6 separate regions of the Homo sapiens genome follow, and regions 1, 3, 4, 5 and 6 are each linked to region 2. The links are contacts of gene promoters, found by promoter capture Hi-C in human tissues and cell types (Jung and others, 2019). All regions are on one chromosome and are shown on one strand. Each heading gives the region's core, a stretch centred on a gene start or on the middle of the fragment in contact. The rest is flanking DNA. Distances are from core to core; before and after follow the strand shown.

Region 1 (2,943 bases), core at 413-2,912, 1.4 Mb before region 2:
ATGGGCTGGCATCAGATGTCAGAAGTGGGAACCAGAGGCTGGAACTGAGGTAACCATAAGCAGTCTTGGTAGGTAAATAAGTAGAGATTTCAGGAAATAAACTCTGAATAACACAGGTGTCCTGAAAGCCCATTCCTATTGGGGCTGACCACACAGTATTTTGGCTTAAAAGTACCATGCCAGGCAGCCTCCTGCGTTTTGCCTGTGTGTCTACAACATGCCCCTAGGGTTTCTCTAGCTGAGTTACAAGTTCTCACAAGTATTTCTTCAAGCCATATCCCTTCTAACACTGAATCCAAGTTTTGAAGATGACACTGATGTCAATACAAATCCAGAACTTTCTGTACCATGTATTCAAGCTCCTTATCTCAAATCCTAGGTATAGGGCTTCAAGCACAGGGCACAGGGCAGAGTTAGAAGGTATCCAATCTCAGGGGATGAAATAGGTCCTGAAGTTTAAGGCAGGCCAGGCACAGTGGCTCACACCTGTAATCCTAGCACTTTGGGAGGCTGAGGTGGGTGGATCACCTGAGGTCAGGAGTTTGAGACAAGCCTGGTCAACATGGTGAAACCCTGTCTCCACTAAAAATACAAAAATTAGCCAGGCATGGTGGCACACGCCTGTAATCCCTGCTACTTGGGAATCTGAGGCAGAAGAATCACTTGGACCCGGGACGGGGAGGTTACAGTGAGCCAAGATCGTGCCACTGTGCTCCAGCCTGGCTAACAGAACAAGACTCCGCCTCAAAAAAATAAAAATAAAAATAAAAAAGTTTAAGGTAAAAATAGGAGATGTGCATGTTACAGTGGAGGGTGGATCTCCCCCCAGGACTGATTCCCCTAACTGATCTTTGATGCCAGAAGATACCCTGTTAAGTCCTCCTGGATGGCCCAAAGTTGTTCCAGATATAGCCCAGTGGCTGGGAATTGGTAGTTTGTCAAGTTGCTAGGATGACAATCGCTATTTACTGTGAAAGGGTATATTCCAGGCAGCTGAGGGCAGGGAAAACAGTCAGTGATTATTGGCTTGTCTCTTTGCTCTGAACATCATCGGCAAGGTTTCACGAGTCTTAGCTCTTCCTGTACTTCTCCCCTACCATTAGTCATCATCAGTTTTACCCACCTAGACAGGTGCTTACTAGGGACAGGATGGTAGCTGAGCCTTTCGGAACAGGGTTAGCTTGGCAGCCACCTGATATCCTAGCGTACAATATAGGAAAGGTCTATAAGTGGGTTGTGGTCCCCTCACAGCTCCGGGGGCTTGGCATAGGGCTTGGATTAGTCAGAGTGAGGGGGAAAGTGTGGCCAGTTTTCCAACAGTGGTAGGCTGCAGCATTTCCTAGTAGAAGATGTGAGTGGGTATCTCAAACGAGGTATCCATGAACAAAACGGCCATGTGCTCCATGCCTCCCTTTCTGCTGCCAGGCCTATTCTACCTGGGTTAGGTCCTTCTCTAGGCTGGGTCCTGCCAGGCAGGGTAATTGGGTAGCAAGTTCCAGAATTGATTAAAAAGAATATTTGGATTTGAAATACCATTTTAACATTGGAATGTGAAAGACTTGTGGAATATGTGTCTAGATCACTAGGTTCTTAAATTTTTGGGATCACATATCTCTTTGAGAATGTGAAGAAAACCATAGGCCACTGTTAAGACTTATGCAGTGATGGAAATGTTCTATATTTGCACCATCCAATGCGATAGCCATGCATGGCTATCAATCACTTGAAATGTGGCTAGTGTGACTGAGAGTATTTAATCTTATTTAATTTTAATTGATTTAAATTGAAATAGACACACGTGGCTAGCAGCTATCATATTGAATGGCACAGCCATAGACTTTTCTCAGAAAAATACAAGATTTTGCATAGAATTTCATAGAGATTTGAAGCCCACTTATGGATTCTGGGTTAAAAAATAAGACCCAAACTTCTTGTAATTCTAAGACTACAACTAAGAGCTAATGTTTTTGATGACTTACTATGTGCCAGGCATTATACATCTATGCTAATTCATTTAATCATCATAATCTCTTTTACAGAGAAGGAAACTGAGGCACAAAGAGATTACCTAACTTGTCCAACATTACACAACAAACTGTGACTTGAACCCAGCTGTTCTGACTTCAGAGTTCATACTCTTACCCATGTTAGGTTGTTCCTTGTTAATTTAACATTTTCTGCAGTAGTTTAAAAAGATAAAAGAGACTATCCAAGTTGTAGAAATCGTCAATATGTGAACCAGTATTGCAGTTTTTAAAATAATTTACCTTTGAATGACTCACTTACAACAAGCATAATTTTTTAATTTGTAAAAATGTTAATGCAGCAGAGCTAGCATAACTACAAATGCATTTTATAAAATGTCAAAAAGTGAATGGAACAAAATTATATCCATAGACACACACACACACAAGGGTTCACAACTGCCGCATGGCACATGTAAATTAAAAATGTTCAAGTGTTGTTGTTGTTTTTTTTCTTAGAGACAAAGTCTCACTATGTTGCCCAGTCTGCTCTCGAACTCCTGGGCTCAAGCAATCCTCCCACCTCGGCCTCCCAAATGTTGGCAGTACAGGCGTGACCCACTGTGCCTGGCCACAAGGGTTTTGGGTAAAGACAAAAATGGGTAATTGTTCATACAATGTAAAACTGCCCACTGGTGAACAGTTTTCAATATGTGAAAAAATTATAACTTCAAGTCTTTGTTTCTCACCAAATGGCTGTCCTGGTAATTTGTTGTTTCAAATAATTCCTTTTCAATGAAATCTTTACTCCCAGATCAAAGTGGATAGGAAATGTTGCCAGCTTATCTTTAAGCTGGACAAACGAATCCTTGAATTTAATAAGATTTCAGGCACCTAAGTGCAGGATACTTAATCATAAAAAAGCTTCAGGGGACTCTCCTGGAACTGTGCCTACAGGGAAGCATCATTCCATAGCCAG
Region 2 (2,700 bases), core at 19-2,518:
GGACAGACTAGTTCAGCATCTTTGATCTTCCCTTCCTGCCTGACGGCCCCAGGGTCAGAATTCCAGGTGCAATTTTGTCTTGCCAAAAGCTGGAGTTTACTCTCTTTGGGGTTTATAAATAAGGAAAAAAGTTCTTTGGAGAGCCTGAACTTTGAAATCAGAGAAGTCTGGATTTACTGCTGGCTCTGCCTTTTCTAGCTGCCTCACCTGGGGCATGTCATTATCTCTATAAGCCTCAGTTTTGTTCTTTTTTCTTTTTTATTTTTTTGTTTTTGTTTTTTTGCGACGGAGTCTCATTCCTTCACCCAGGCTGGAGTGTAGTGGCGCGATCTCGGCTCACTGCAACCTCTGCCTCCAGGGTTCAAGCGATTCTCGTGCCTCAGCCTCCAGAGTAGCTGGGACTACAGGCGCGCCCGGCTGCTTTTTTGTATTTTTACTAAAGACAGGGTTTTACCGTTTTGGCCAGGCTGGTCTCGAACTCCTGACCTCAGGTGATCTGCCGGCCTCGGCCTCCCAAAGTGCTGGGAAGATGGAATGAGAGAAATCCCTCAAAACATGTCATTGTTACTACTTTTCTATCTAGAATGTGTGAAATTTCTAAAATTTCACTAACAAAGTATCTGGAAGGACCTAATATTAAAGTGTTCACAGTAGCTATTAGTTTTAATTCGTTTTCTTTTTTATACCTTAGCCACTCTACCACTCATGCCACAGGTATTTATTAAGCATCTACTGTGTGCCACCCAGGCCCTGTGTCAAGAGTTAGGAATAACTAAAGGAGATACTAATTTTAAAACTACACAAATAATTGCAATCGTCATACGTGCCTGTTTTTACAAAGCAGAAATCAGGAAAAACAAAGTATTTCCGATAAAAAATATTTTAAGGTTATGGATAGAGATACATACAAACAAGCGATGGGCTTGGATCACTAATGATTTTGGAAAGGACAGGAATACAGGAACTAAGCGAGAAGCAGGCGAGAATGGCGAGGCGCGGCGGGAGAGGACGGAAGTTGGTCACTCCCTCGAATTGCCCCCTCGCTGCCGGATGCTAGGCCAGCCTTGAGCAGGAGAACCGGACACTGTGTACTCAGCAGGGGGAGCCAAGACTTAGCGCTAACCATTGCACCTGGGGCTGGGAGCCAGCGCCGGAGCCAGGAGGCCCGCTAGGCGGCTGCAGGCGCTGTGATGGCCACCTGGGGGCGGCCACGTGAGCGCCACGCCGTGCGCCCGCCAGGCCAGCCCCGCCCCTGCCCGCCCGCTTCTGCTCAACCTAGACCAGCCCCAGCTTCAGCCTCAGCTCCCCTCCTTCCTGGATCGAGCGCCCGCACTCCCGGCCCTGCAGCCACCCGAGTCCCGCTCGCTGTCGCCTGCACGCGAGTCCCCCCTGGCACGCGCTCCCACATCCCGGGATCGTCCCAACGGCCCCTGCGCCCTTCCTGGGATCACTCCGACTGCCCCGCGCGCCCTGGGATCGGTCCATCTACCCCGCGTGGCCCCAGCTGCTTGCCCGGAGCGCCAGCTAGCGCTCCCCGCTCTCCGCTCCCCGGCACTCTCGGGGGGCCCGCCCGCCCTGCACCCTGGAGCTCCGGGCCGCGAGCCTCTGCCAACTCCTCTGGACCCTCGCGGCCGTGGGCAGCGGCTGCCGCGCCTGTCTGCCCGAGGGAGGTAGGTGTGGACCGCGGCCGGCAAGGCTGTGGGGGGCTGGGAGCCCGCGCTGCAGGCCTGTGCGCCCGGGTGCAGCTGGCGTCTGGAGCGTGCTGGGTCTGGGCTTGGGAATGGGGCCGGAGAAGGCATGGAAGGAGAGTGTGGGGGCGCTTCTCCTCTGGTTGTTAAACTCTCTGGGGCTAAGTGCTTGCTTTGGAGAAATGGGGAAGTTGTGCGGATTAAAGGCGATGTGGATATGGAAAGCAATTGGCAAGCAATGGGCGGTGATCTGGCTGCAAGTGACAGAGAGTTTGGGGGCCTCCCCCCTCGGGGCCCCTAGAGTGTGGGCGCATCGCTGCCTTCCTGTCCCCTGCAGGGCTCAGAGCCGCATCCCCCACCTTTCCCCTGAACTAGAGGCCTGCGTCAGCCCGAATTCCCGGAACCTCCAGGACTGTATAGACGCGCCCTTGCTGCATTGTTGGCTGCGGGAGTTTGTTGGCAGGCGCTGCTGACATGTGTGCCAAGGGGCTGGGCATTAATAAGCCGGTGGCCGCGCGGGGGTGGGGGCCTCCCGGGTAAGCCCCGGCCTAGATCCTTTTGCGCGCGCCTGGGGGATTTCGGGGAACCAGCCCAGCTGCGCCCTGAGTGTGACAGATGGGCCGCATGGGGAAGTGAGATCTGCCCAGGGGGACGGTCCCAGGGAGCCCGACCTCTGGGACCTCGGTGGTGGGTGCTTCTTCAGCCAGGAAAGCAGGAAACACTAGGGCTGGAGTCCTGGGTTGGAATTCTAGCTCATTTATGCTCTCTGGCCCTCGGTTTTCTCATCGGTAAAATGGGTACAGTATTAGTATCTACCACTTAGTATCCTTGGAAAGAGTAGATGAGTATGTATATGTCAGGTGCTTGGAACAGTGCCTGGCACACAGTGTCATAGTCTATGGCCCCGGGAGACATCTGATGGCCAAGAGCCCTGTGGTTGAGGGCCCTGGACAGGCTGTGAAGTCACAGCGAATTGAGTCACGTAGTCTATCCTAATGTTTTTAGCGAGGAG
Region 3 (2,700 bases), core at 26-2,525, 1.3 Mb before region 2:
CCCAAGGTTTAGGCTTTGATTTTTTTTTTTAAGTTACTTATTTTCACAAATGCTCATGTAGCATGAGGCCCCAGAGTACATTAACATGTGCAAAGATAAGCAGGTAATTAAAAATGGAGCTCTATACCTGTTGGAAGGCACTGTGGTACTGCAAGCTTTGCAAAGTAAGACATCTGATGATTCGTTCCTGCCCACTTCCCACCCACATGACCTGCCAAAATTGCTGCCACCTAATGGCCACCACAATGCTGTCTATTAAAACCCTGCCCTAGCAGCTATGCCCTATTTTAAGAAACAACATAAAAAATTTATAAAATAAAGCAGCAGCACCATAAGTTCTTTCAGTCATCAATAAGTCTGAAGACTCAAAGACAACTATGGCCCCAGAATAAACTGCGTGCGCTCATGCACACACACACACACACACACACACACACACACACACACACACACAAATGTTGCATCCAACAATAGGGGGTCCATGAAATTACATGCAACTTTTCTGAATTGCGTTCAGTGTCTTGACTGTTCTGCAACCAACATTCAATTCTCTCACTCAAAAACCAGTTGCACAGATATTGCAGCTCCTTCAGCTGCTCCAGTATAGTCATGTGCCTTCCAGGAGGGAAAGTACATGCATTGGATGCAAAATGACTAGGTTTGTACAGCCCAGCTCTACCAACTCTCTAGCTCACACTTAACCATATTCCATCTCAGTCTTCTCAGTTGAAAACGGGAACTAAAACAAATCACTGTGAACTAAATGACTATATGCAGAAGAATAAAACTAGATCCCCTCTCTCACACTATATACAAAAATCAAATCAAAGTGGATTGAAGATTTAAATATAAGACATGAAACTATGAAACTACTAGAAGAAAACACTGGGGAAATGATCTAGGACACTGGTCTGGGCAAAGATTTTTTGTGTAAGACCTTAAAAGCACAGGCAACCAAAGCAAAAAGAGACAAATGGGGTTATATCAAGCTAAAAAGCTTCTACACAGCAAAGTAAACAATCAACAATGTGAAGAGACAATCCACAGAATGGGAAAAAAAATCTGCAAACTATCCATCTGACGAGGGATTAACAGCCAGAATATATAAGGAGCTCAAACAACTTAATAGCAAAATAATAATAATAATAATCTGATTTTTATTTTATTTATTTATTTTTTTTGAGACAGAGTCTCACTCTGTCACCCACGCTGGAGTGCAGTGGCATGATCTCGGCTCACTGCAACCAATCACCTCCGAGGTTCAAGTGATTCTCTTGCCTTAGCCTCTCGAGTAGCTGGGATTACAGGCGCATGCCACCAGGCCCAGCTCATTTTTGTATTTTCAGTAGAGACAGTGTTTCACCATGTTGGCCAGGCTGGTCTCAAACTCCTGACCTCAGGTGATCCGCCTGCCTCAGCCTCCCAAAGTGCTGGGATTACAGGCTCGAGCCACTGTGCCCGACTCTAATCTGATTTTTAAATGGGCAAAAGATCTGAATAGATGTTTCTCAAAAGGAGACATGAAAATAGCCAGCAGGTATACGAAAAAATGCTCAACATCACTAATCATCACAGAAATGTAAATAAAAGCCACAACGAAATATTATCTCACCCCAGTTAAAATGGTTATGAAAAAAAAAAAAAACAGAATAATGAATGGCAAGGATGTGGAAAAATGGGAACCCTCGTATACTGTTGGTGGAAATGTTAATGAGTATAGCCACTATGGAAAACAGTATAAAGGGCCCTCAAAAAACTGAAAATAGAACTACTGTATGATCCAGCAATTGCACTACTAGGTATATGTGCAAAGGAAAGAAAATCAATATACTGGAGAGATCTGCACTCCCATGTTTATTGTAGCATTATTCACAATAGCCAAAATATGGAATCCACCTGAGTGCCCATCCATGGATGAATGGATAAAGAAAATGTGGTACATATACACAATGGAATATTATTCAGCCATAAAAAAGTATGAAACCCTGTCATAGGCAACACGGTTGGAACTAGAGGTCATTACGTTAAGTGAAATAAACCAAGCACAGAAAGACAAATAGCACATGTTCTCACTCATGTGTGAGCTAAAAAAGTGGATCTCAGGAAGAGAGAGACAGTTATCTTCTCTAGGTAGTTACCAGAGGCAGGGAAGGGGAGCGGGAGGGGAGATGAAAAGAAGTGGGTTAGTGGGTACAAACAGAAGTAAGACCTAGCGTTGGAAAAATCAGTAGGGTGACTCCAGTCAACAATAATCTAATGTACATTTCAAAATAGGTGGAAGAGAATAATTTAAATGATCCCGGCATAAAGAAAAGATAAATATTTAAGGTGATATAATATCCCAATTACCCTGATTTGATTTTTACACATAATGTGAATGTATCATATTATCACATGTCTCAAAACTACATATATTATTTATCAATTAACAAAAAAATGGGACTGAGTTCTGCGATGAAAAAAAAAAGGTCACGGTGAAGAATAAATGGCTGCTTCATATGAGATGGGTCTCAGTTCACGTGCTGACATGTGTTCCATGTTCAACCAATCCAAATGCCACTTCCCTCTAATTCAGCACAACGCTGTTTTACTTCTTCACGGCACTTACAACTCTGTGAAATTCTAATTTGCTGACTTATTTATTGCCTGCTCCCTCTAATAGCAGGCATTTTACCTGCCTTATTCGCCACTTTACCCTGT
Region 4 (2,742 bases), core at 46-2,545, 1.4 Mb after region 2:
GGCGGGTGGATTGCGAGGTCGGGAGTTCAAGACCAACCTGGCCAATATGATGAAACCCCGTCTCCACTAAAAATACAAAACTTAGCCGGGCATGGTGGCGGGCGCCTGTAGTCCCAAATACTCGGGGGGGCTGAGGGAGGAGAATTGCTTGAACCTGAGAGGCGGAGGTTGCCGTTAGCCGGAGGTTGCAGTGAGCTGAGATCACGCCACTGCATTACAGCCTGGGTGACAGAGCGAGACTCTGTCTCAAAAACAACAACAACAACACCGAAATCACTGCCTCCCGGCGTTTCAGCCTCACGCAGATTTCATCAGCTCAAGCTATATACTACAGGTACAGTCGTTCCTTGGTATTTGCGCAGATTGGTTCCAGGACCCCCGACTATACCCAAATCCCCGCACACTCACGTCCCGCAGTCAGCCTTGCAGAATCCGCTTATAGGAAGAGCCTGCCCTCCTTATACGCGGGGCGGCACATCCCGTAAATACTGGTCGCGTTTGGTTGAAAAAAAATCCGCATATAAGTGGACCCGCGCAATTCAAATCCTTATTGGTCAAAGGTCACTTGGCTTGTTTCCTAGAATTACTTCCAGGAGTCCTGGACACAGGCAGAAGGTGCTGCAGGGAAGAGTAAGGACAGAACTGCAGAGAGAAAACCGCTCTGGAGAAGGCTGTAGGCCAGTGTGGCTGCCTCTTTGCATGCTGCTTTCACTACAATACGGTGACCGCTATTTTGAGACCGTACGAGGTGCTCTAGCCGCATTAACTCATCTAATCCTCATTGCTACTCCGCAAGGTAGAGACCAGGATCCCAATTTTGCAGGTGAGTGTGAGCCAGGCTAGGAGACTTGTCCAAAGTTTCGGTAAGCGGCAGCCCAGCAGTGCTGGACTCGAGTCAGTGCTCTTGCTCGTTATTACGAGGTCACCCGGCCTCCCGTCAGGGGTCAACTAAACACCTTTAGGCAGCGGGGCTGCGGAGCGAGCCGGCTGCCCCCCGGGTCACCCCTGCCTGCAGCTGGCGCGCCCCGGATGCCCGGCCCCCACCCCCACCGGGCCCAATCCCTGACCCTTGCCAAGCGGCAGCAAAGTCACCACGAGTCACCTGCGCGAGCACTAAGGCCGGCTGCAAAGTCCCGAGCCTCGTCTGGGTCCCCGCGGAGCAGAGAGCGGTGCTGAGAGGCCGGGCCACGGCCAGCATCCGGACCCGGGGCAGCGGCGCAAAGGCCGCGGGCAGGCGGCTGACATAGGCTGAAAGGACACGAGACGCCATGGCTACGCCAACCCAGGATGCACTGCGCCGCCGCCTCCGGACCAGGGTTCCTTTCCGGCGGCGCGCAGGCGACGCACACGGCAGCGCTGTCGGGCACCGCCGGCGGTGGCGGCCCCTGGCGGCTCCTGGAGGCACTGCGCCCTCGGAGCCCATCCAGGTTCGGGGACGAACAACTGCTTGGTGTCACAACTAAACTGTGCAGACGTCGCCGTCTTTCCCTAAACGACACGGCACGAGAAACCTACTTTCATTTTTTATCTGAAAGTTCTGAAATACATCTGTTTAAACGTTTGGGGCCGGGTGCGGTGGCTGACGCCTTTAATCCTAGCACTTTGGGAGGCCAAGGTGGCAGGACTGTTTGAGCTCAGGAGTTCAAGACCAACCTGGCCAACACGGCAAGACTCCGTCTCTATTACAAAAAAGATTAAAAGAAAAAAAGGACAAAGTTTTGATTCCACAATTCTTCCACAAGTATTAACATTTATTGAATAGGTAAAAAAATATATATAATAATGTGAAAAAATAATCAATTTCAATACCTAAGACTAATAAATGTGAGAATTACGATTAAAACAATATACATGTTTTAAAACTTGACAGTGTATAATATAGCTGTCAGGTCCACGACTATGCCAACTGTCATGCCCACAGCCAGGTTCCAGCCCATATCGAGGTCTGAGGGGAGTGGGTGGATGAACAGATAGCTGAAAGAACACTCAGGGGACGGTAGGCAGGTGAAAGATGATTTTATTCAGCAGCAGCTCTCATCAGCAGCTTACTTACACTAGTTCTCTCACACTGTCTGCCTTGTCTCAGCTGCTTAGTCCCATGGCTCCCCCACACAACTGCGAGGCTGGCTCTCCCTTGCCTTCAGGGTCAGCAGCTTAACTCTCTCTCAGCTGTGATCTGGCTCCCCCTGTCTGTCTGCAAAGACTGACAGCTCTGGCTCTCTCTTTCTCTGGGCACGAACGCCTGTACAGTATCAGCAGGGCAATTATACCTTTTACAGAAAATAGTGGCTTAGAGCCAAGTGATGACCTTCCCATGTTATGCCTACATGGCTGTGATAACAAGTGGAGTTATACGCCTCTGTCTAAACTTGCTGAGTCACGCAGGATGTAAACATCTTACCTTGGCCTATCCTTGACCAAAGCACAGCCATGTTCCTTACAATAGCTAACAAAAATAGGTAAGCGAGGGAGGAGTTTAAGAAGGCTAATTCCTATTTCTAAGCAGGGAGCTAAAGGATATTGACTGAAATGGAAACACACGGGATAATGACTCCAAATTCTGAAATCTGCCTGAATGAATGATCCAATAATGTCACCAGTTTTACCTCAATTTCTTTTTATTTTTGTTAAATCCAAGTAAAATAAAATGTAATGGTATGCTGCCAGGCGCGGTGGCTCATACCTGTAATCCCAGCACTTTGGGAGGCCAAGGTGGGTGGATCACGAGGTCAAGAGATCGAG
Region 5 (2,915 bases), core at 398-2,897, 1.0 Mb before region 2:
CAAGTTCATCATACTTCATTTAAGCTCCTGCTAAATTGATGATAGTGCTACTGAGCACTTGCTCTGTGCCAGGGACTCTCTTAAACACTTTCCAGGCCTTATGTCATGTAATCCTTAACAATTTAGCCCCTTTCTATTATAAGGAAAATTAAGCCAAGTCCCTTAAGCTGAGAGTAGCACAGAAGGGACTTAATTCCAGGTGAGTTAATTCCAAAGCCCTCTTAATCAAGATACAAAGTGACTCTCTAAAACAGGAGTTGGCAATTTCTGGAAAGGGCCAGACAGGAAGTATTTAGTAAGTAATATAGTCTCTACTGGAATTTCTGGAAAGGGCCAGATAGTAAGTATTTAGTAAATAATATAGTCTCTACTGCAGTTAGTCAACTCTGTTGCCGTAGCATGAAGGCAGCACAGACCAGGAAGTAAATGCATGGGCATGGCTGTGTTCCAGTAAAACTTTATTTACAAAGACAGGCAGCTTGCTGGATTTGGCCAACCATTGCTCTATAAGAACTGATATCCTGAGTTTTGTTTTTCTACAAAACAGCCCTTGAACTCCTTACCAAAAGTTTATCCTGTTATTATTCCTATGTTGAAAAATAAAGGGTGAAGTGGGTATAATATAAAATTGCTCAAGGATGGCTCTTATAGGATTGCTTAATTGAATCAACCCTGGAGTCATAATCACCTTTTCAAAAATCGCTTTGATCACTCTTAGTCTTTTGTTTGTTCATTTGTATTTTACTTATAAAATGGGGTCTTGCTGTGTTGCCCAGGCCATTCTCAAACTCCTGGCTTCAAGCAATCCTCCCCCGTTGGCCTCTCAATGAACTGGAATTATAGGCGTAAGGCACTAACTCACTCCCAGTCTTAAAAGATGTAAAAGGAGAAATATTGGCCTATTTTGCATATTGAGGGTGATGCTTCTGAAATAAAATTCCTCCCTGCCTCTGAACGCTGCTGTAACAGGGTGAGTTCTTAAAGATTATACCACAGGAAGTAGCAGAATCTGACTCCCTACTTATCAATGAAGAAATTGAAAAACAAATCCAGGATTTGTACTTGATCTCCTTATCTTCCCCTATTGCTGCCAACCAATTGTTTCCACGTGGGCAGAGGTTCTTAAGCTTTTTGTTCTCAAGTCCCATTTTACCTTCTTAAAAATTATTGAGGCATCTGAAGAGATGTTATTTATGTGGTTAATTGTATTAATAGCACTTTGGGAGGCCAAGGAGGGAAGATCACTTGAGGCCAGGGGTTTAAGACCAACCTAGGCAACATGGCAAGACCACATCTCTACAAAAAATACAAAAATTAGCCAACTGTGGTGGTGCGTGCCTGTAGTCCCAGCTACTCAGGAGGCTGAGATGGGAGGATCATTTGGGCCCAGGAGTTCAAGGCTGCAGTGAGCTGTGATCACACCATTGCACTCCAGCCTGGGCAACAGAGCAAGACCCTGTCTCAAAAAACAAATGAAATGAGCTGAAATATAAAATAAATAACTAACATGACATAAAACTATATACAATAAAATAAATTAAAATAAACATAACATAAATTACATTAAATCAAATTAAATATTAGCTGGTGCATGCTTGTGGTCCCAGCTACTCAAGAGGCTGAGGAGGGAGGATGGCCTGAGCCTGGGAGGTTGGGGGTGCAGTGAGCTATGATTGTACCACTGCACTCCAGCCTGGGTGACAGAGCTAGACTCTGTCTGGAAAAAAAAAAAAAAAGAATATTAATAATTATTTCTTTTTAAAAAATTTTCTTCCTCATTGTTTCTTGTTCTGAAATAATTATTCTATGAGAAATCATAGCATAAATTTTAAAAATATCTATTCATTTAAAAGGAACAATATTACCTGTTGATATAAATAACAAATTTTAATGAAAAGTAACTATATTTTCCAAAACAAAATGAAATTTGTGAGTGGTATTATTTTACATTTTACAGATCTCTTTCATATCTGCCTTAACAGTTGTCAGCCGGCTTCTCGTTTGTGTGGCTGCATTCATTCTGTTGTGCTATGTTGTCCTGTTTGGAGTATTTGAAGAAGACCTAGCATCACTAACATGCGGTTGGGAGAGGGAGGCAAAGCTTTTTTAAACGATTGTGGATATTCTATGATAGTCCACCAAAACTCCGTAAGTGATAGTTTCTTAAAGGTTAGCTGAAATGTGAAATTTTTCTACTCTATTTTATTGAAATCTTCAGGTCTGTGTCACACTTTAAATTGATCTTTATCATGCATGATTTTCTAACTTTACCCATTGGTCAATGGGAGAATATCAATTCATTGAGTCATGCAGATCTTCCAAATATATTTTGAAAAATTGCACTGTTCCCTTGTGAGAGAATGTGAGTGAAAAAGGCATATAATAGGTCATGTTATTGTGAACATGGTTTTCATCTGAGAACCCTTGCATTAGCGAATTCTTTTTTTTTTTTTTTTTTTTGAGACGAGTCTCACTCTCACCCAGGCTGGAGTGCAGTGGCTTGATCTTGGTTCACACAACCTCTCCCTTCTGGGTTCAAGCAGTTCTTCTGTCTCAGCCTCCCGAGTAGCTGGGATTATAGGTGTGCACCACCATGCATGGCTAATTTTTGTGTTTTTAGTAGAGGTGGGGTTTCACCATGTTGGCCAGGCTGGTCTTGAACTCCTGAGCTCAAGTGATCCACCCACCTCAGCCTCCCAAGATGCTGGGATTATAGGTGTAAGCCACTGTACCCAGCCTGCATTAGTGAATTCTTTATAACTCAAAAAAAGATAACTCCCTCATTAAATGATCGAAAGCATGGAATGGGGGGAAGAGGAGCTATATAATTTATTTCATGATTTAATGGAATTTTGGCCCTAAAACATAAAAGATAATACAGCTTAAATTTTTAAAAAAGAAAAGAAAAAGGAAAC
Region 6 (2,700 bases), core at 201-2,700, 1.3 Mb before region 2:
CACAAAGGTGGAGGGTCACATGAGCAGTGGACTCATCACCTCAGCGGCTTAAGGCAGGGTATATCTGTGGGACCAATTCATCCAAGCCCCATGTGCCTATTGCTTCACATTCCCCCTTTAAAACCTAGTCATATTCATTAGTGCAACAGGTAAGAGCAATTAAGCACAGACGGAGCTGGGGACCAGGGTCAGAGGGAAGACACTTCTCCCAGAGCAAATGTATGCATGTCAGGGGGATGAAAAACCCCAGCAGCTGCTGAATGGCTTCCTTTGGCAATATCCAAGATTTGTGTTGAAAGGAGCAGGGAGGTTGGATGGGTGGCGGAAGTAGGTATTTATGAGATAGGCTGGGTTTCCAAGAAGAGAAGAATAGGGAGGACATGATGCCCAGCACCTGAATCAGAAGCAGAACCCAATGGTTATGCAAAGCTATTTGAACTATTTTGGCTTCTGCAACCAGTGCTCAAGAATCTATTTCATCTTTCGAAAAGGGGGAAAACCCCTGCCGATCCTCACCAACATGCAGTCCCAGTCCAGTTTAAACTGGATATGCAATTACAGCTTACCAGGGGAATAAACTCTGAGGGGGATGGATGGTTCGGAACCTTCTTTATATGATCAGAAAACACACTGTGGAATAAGAGGAGGATCAATGTCGCATTTCCTCAATGAGTCCCAATTAACACAATTCAACAACCTTAATAGTCCTTTCAGTCGTTTAAACAAGATACTGCTGGAGTCCTCCAAGAAGACCTGTCATTTACCAAGATGTTCAAGTCCCCCAAGGAAGACCTTTGTCAGTTACCAAGATGCTCAAGTCATAGCTAACCAAACATGAGAGACAAGAAAAACAGCAGAGCAGTCAAGTAAAATGCAACAAAAACCTAGCAGCAGCTTTCTTCTACGCCTTAACCTTATAATTGCATAACTGAGTCTACACCTTTTGGGCTTTGCTGCACTGAAGACCTCATTTGGAATCTGGCAAACCAAACATTCTTAAATACATAGGTTGGTGTAAAAGTAATTGTGGTTTTTGCCATACTTAATGGCAATACATTAAGTATGGCAAAAACTTACTTTTGCACCAACCTAACAGATCTGTTTTGGTTTGTAAACTTTTAGACAAGTTCTTATCCCAGTAACTCCCCACCACTGTTTAATACAATTTGGCACAGTATATAGTACATGAGGCCATCGAGTGTAACTACTATGGGACTCCATTTTGGCACCAGCCCCTAGAGACCAGTACTGCTTCAAAGACTAATACTGTGTGGCTTAATCCTTTCTCCCTTTCCAAAAAGACTAGTTTGTGCTTTCCTTGGGGAAGTTTAATATTGAAAACACTGCCTTGTACATTTTCAATTGTTATTTTCCTGGGCCCAGGGGTTTGGTTAAAATTTAGATCTTCACCCAGCTCTAGATTCATCTTCCCTTATCAGAAGGGCAGACATGGTTTCCTGGACCCAACTCACACAGGTGGGCAGCACTTCAGCTGCTGAGACAACCAGCTGAAGCATAGCAAAGCCCCTTACAGGAGGTGGGGTTAAGAACGATACATTGAGATTTGGCAAAGATGGGGGAAAGAGCAATTCAATGAAGCAGCACGTCATCTCATACCATCTTTCCAATAAACTGCTAAAGAAACATCACAAAAGCTGACAAAGCCAGTTGTCAAAACTGAGTTATTTCTTATTTCCCAACACACTTGTTTGTTGTTGCCCTCAGATGTTGCCGATTTCCAAAGTGGCGTCCACATCCTGCCCCTCTCCACATCACCCTGATGTTCTGTTGCTAAGCAAGGAGTGTACTGGCTTATCTGAGGGGCATGCATTCAGCCTCTTACACAGACTTACTGCTCACTCATTAAGTGGCAAACCTATTTCTAGGTTGAAAGGAACAAGACTTTTCACTTCCCAGAAGTATAACTTCAAACCCTACACACACCTCACCTTGGATCCCTTTGCAGAAAAACTGCATTTCTTGTGGTCATGAAAGAGTCAAGCATTGGCCCAGAGCTACTGCAGAAGCTTGAAATCTTTGCTGAGCATCAAGTACTCAAACTTGAAAGGAACTTGTAAGTCCCTCCCTGACTGCTCCCTTTTCTGGCTTCTCATTTGCAAATGGATCAATATAACCAAAAAATAACTAAATGGCTTTTTTGGTGGGGGATGAGGAGGCTAAATAGTTAATTTAAAAAACAACAAAATACATCCACTCTAGTACATCTAATGCACGGAATGTCTTCTTAAAGGGTGGGGAAGGAACCTAGTTTCTCCAGAGTACTCAGGGTCCTGGGCTGCCTGCCTCTTTTGTGCAGCTTTCTCTGATACACTCTGATCTGGGATGGAAAGGGCCTTATCTGGCCAAGAGCAGCCTGGCTTTTCCCTCAGTCAACCACTACCCAATCCAGAACCGGGGAAAATGAGTTGCAAACTGGCTTAATGAAAAAGCAGTCTTTTTAAAACCTCAGTCTGGGTACCCAGCTACAACTGATCCCACAGAACCTGCTGGGACCCCTGGAGACTTATTCAAGAGTCTTATTTAGCTAGAACAGAAGCCAGGCATCTGGCCCAAGACCCCCTTCAGCTTTCTAGCAGTACTATACCGTGGGTGATCTTAAAGTTTCCCATTTGCCCCTCTGAAGGAGGAACTGTCAGGTTTAGGATTTAAAAAAAAAAACAAATTCCAAGTATGTTCCCT

The links. Contacts are between HindIII fragments. The study calls those that stand out against the background at their distance.
Region 1: a fragment that was not itself captured here is called in contact with the fragment with the promoter of EEF2K in region 2 in 1 of the 25 tissues and cell types used here (lymphoblastoid cells).
Region 3: a contact is called between a fragment that was not itself captured here and the fragment with the promoter of EEF2K in region 2, in 1 of the 25 tissues and cell types used here (spleen).
Region 4: a contact is called between the fragment with the promoter of NDUFAB1 here and the fragment with the promoter of EEF2K in region 2, in 1 of the 25 tissues and cell types used here (IMR-90 fibroblasts).
Region 5: a fragment that was not itself captured here is called in contact with the fragment with the promoter of EEF2K in region 2 in 1 of the 25 tissues and cell types used here (mesendoderm cells).
Region 6: a fragment that was not itself captured here is called in contact with the fragment with the promoter of EEF2K in region 2 in 1 of the 25 tissues and cell types used here (lymphoblastoid cells).

What each region holds. Positions count from the first base shown.
Region 1 is chr16:20,792,723-20,795,665 of GRCh38, forward strand. All of the region lies in intron 12 of ACSM3 (acyl-CoA synthetase medium chain family member 3), which reads left to right. It also overlaps a transcript of ERI2 not described here. Among named protein-coding and RNA genes, the nearest start is that of ERI2, 12 kb to the right of the region's middle. The HindIII fragment of the contact is 5,019 bases long and covers 1-2,943 here.
Region 2 is chr16:22,205,010-22,207,709 of GRCh38, forward strand. It overlaps EEF2K (eukaryotic elongation factor 2 kinase), which reads left to right and starts at 1,269. Exons shown (of 18, transcript NM_013302.5): 1 at 1,269-1,670. RefSeq lists silencers at 1,040-1,339, 1,500-1,769. The HindIII fragment of the contact is 13,900 bases long and covers 1-2,700 here.
Region 3 is chr16:20,874,803-20,877,502 of GRCh38, forward strand. The region is part of intron 1 of DCUN1D3 (defective in cullin neddylation 1 domain containing 3); the gene reads right to left. Among named protein-coding and RNA genes, the nearest start is that of DCUN1D3, 24 kb to the right of the region's middle. RefSeq lists an enhancer at 1-130 and a silencer at 777-856. The HindIII fragment of the contact is 5,197 bases long and covers 1-2,700 here.
Region 4 is chr16:23,595,021-23,597,762 of GRCh38, forward strand. NDUFAB1 (NADH:ubiquinone oxidoreductase subunit AB1) reads right to left here and starts at 1,296. Exons shown (of 5, transcript NM_005003.3): 1 at 1,103-1,296. The coding sequence starts at 1,270. RefSeq lists a silencer at 954-1,043. The HindIII fragment of the contact is 9,015 bases long and covers 1-2,565 here.
Region 5 is chr16:21,175,180-21,178,094 of GRCh38, forward strand. The region is part of intron 4 of LDAF1 (lipid droplet assembly factor 1); the gene reads left to right. Among named protein-coding and RNA genes, the nearest start is that of LDAF1, 18 kb to the left of the region's middle. The HindIII fragment of the contact is 5,741 bases long and covers 1-2,915 here.
Region 6 is chr16:20,855,157-20,857,856 of GRCh38, forward strand. DCUN1D3 (defective in cullin neddylation 1 domain containing 3) reads right to left here. Exons shown (of 3, transcript NM_173475.4): 3 at 1-2,700. Among named protein-coding and RNA genes, the nearest start is that of DCUN1D3, 44 kb to the right of the region's middle. The HindIII fragment of the contact is 5,933 bases long and covers 1-2,700 here.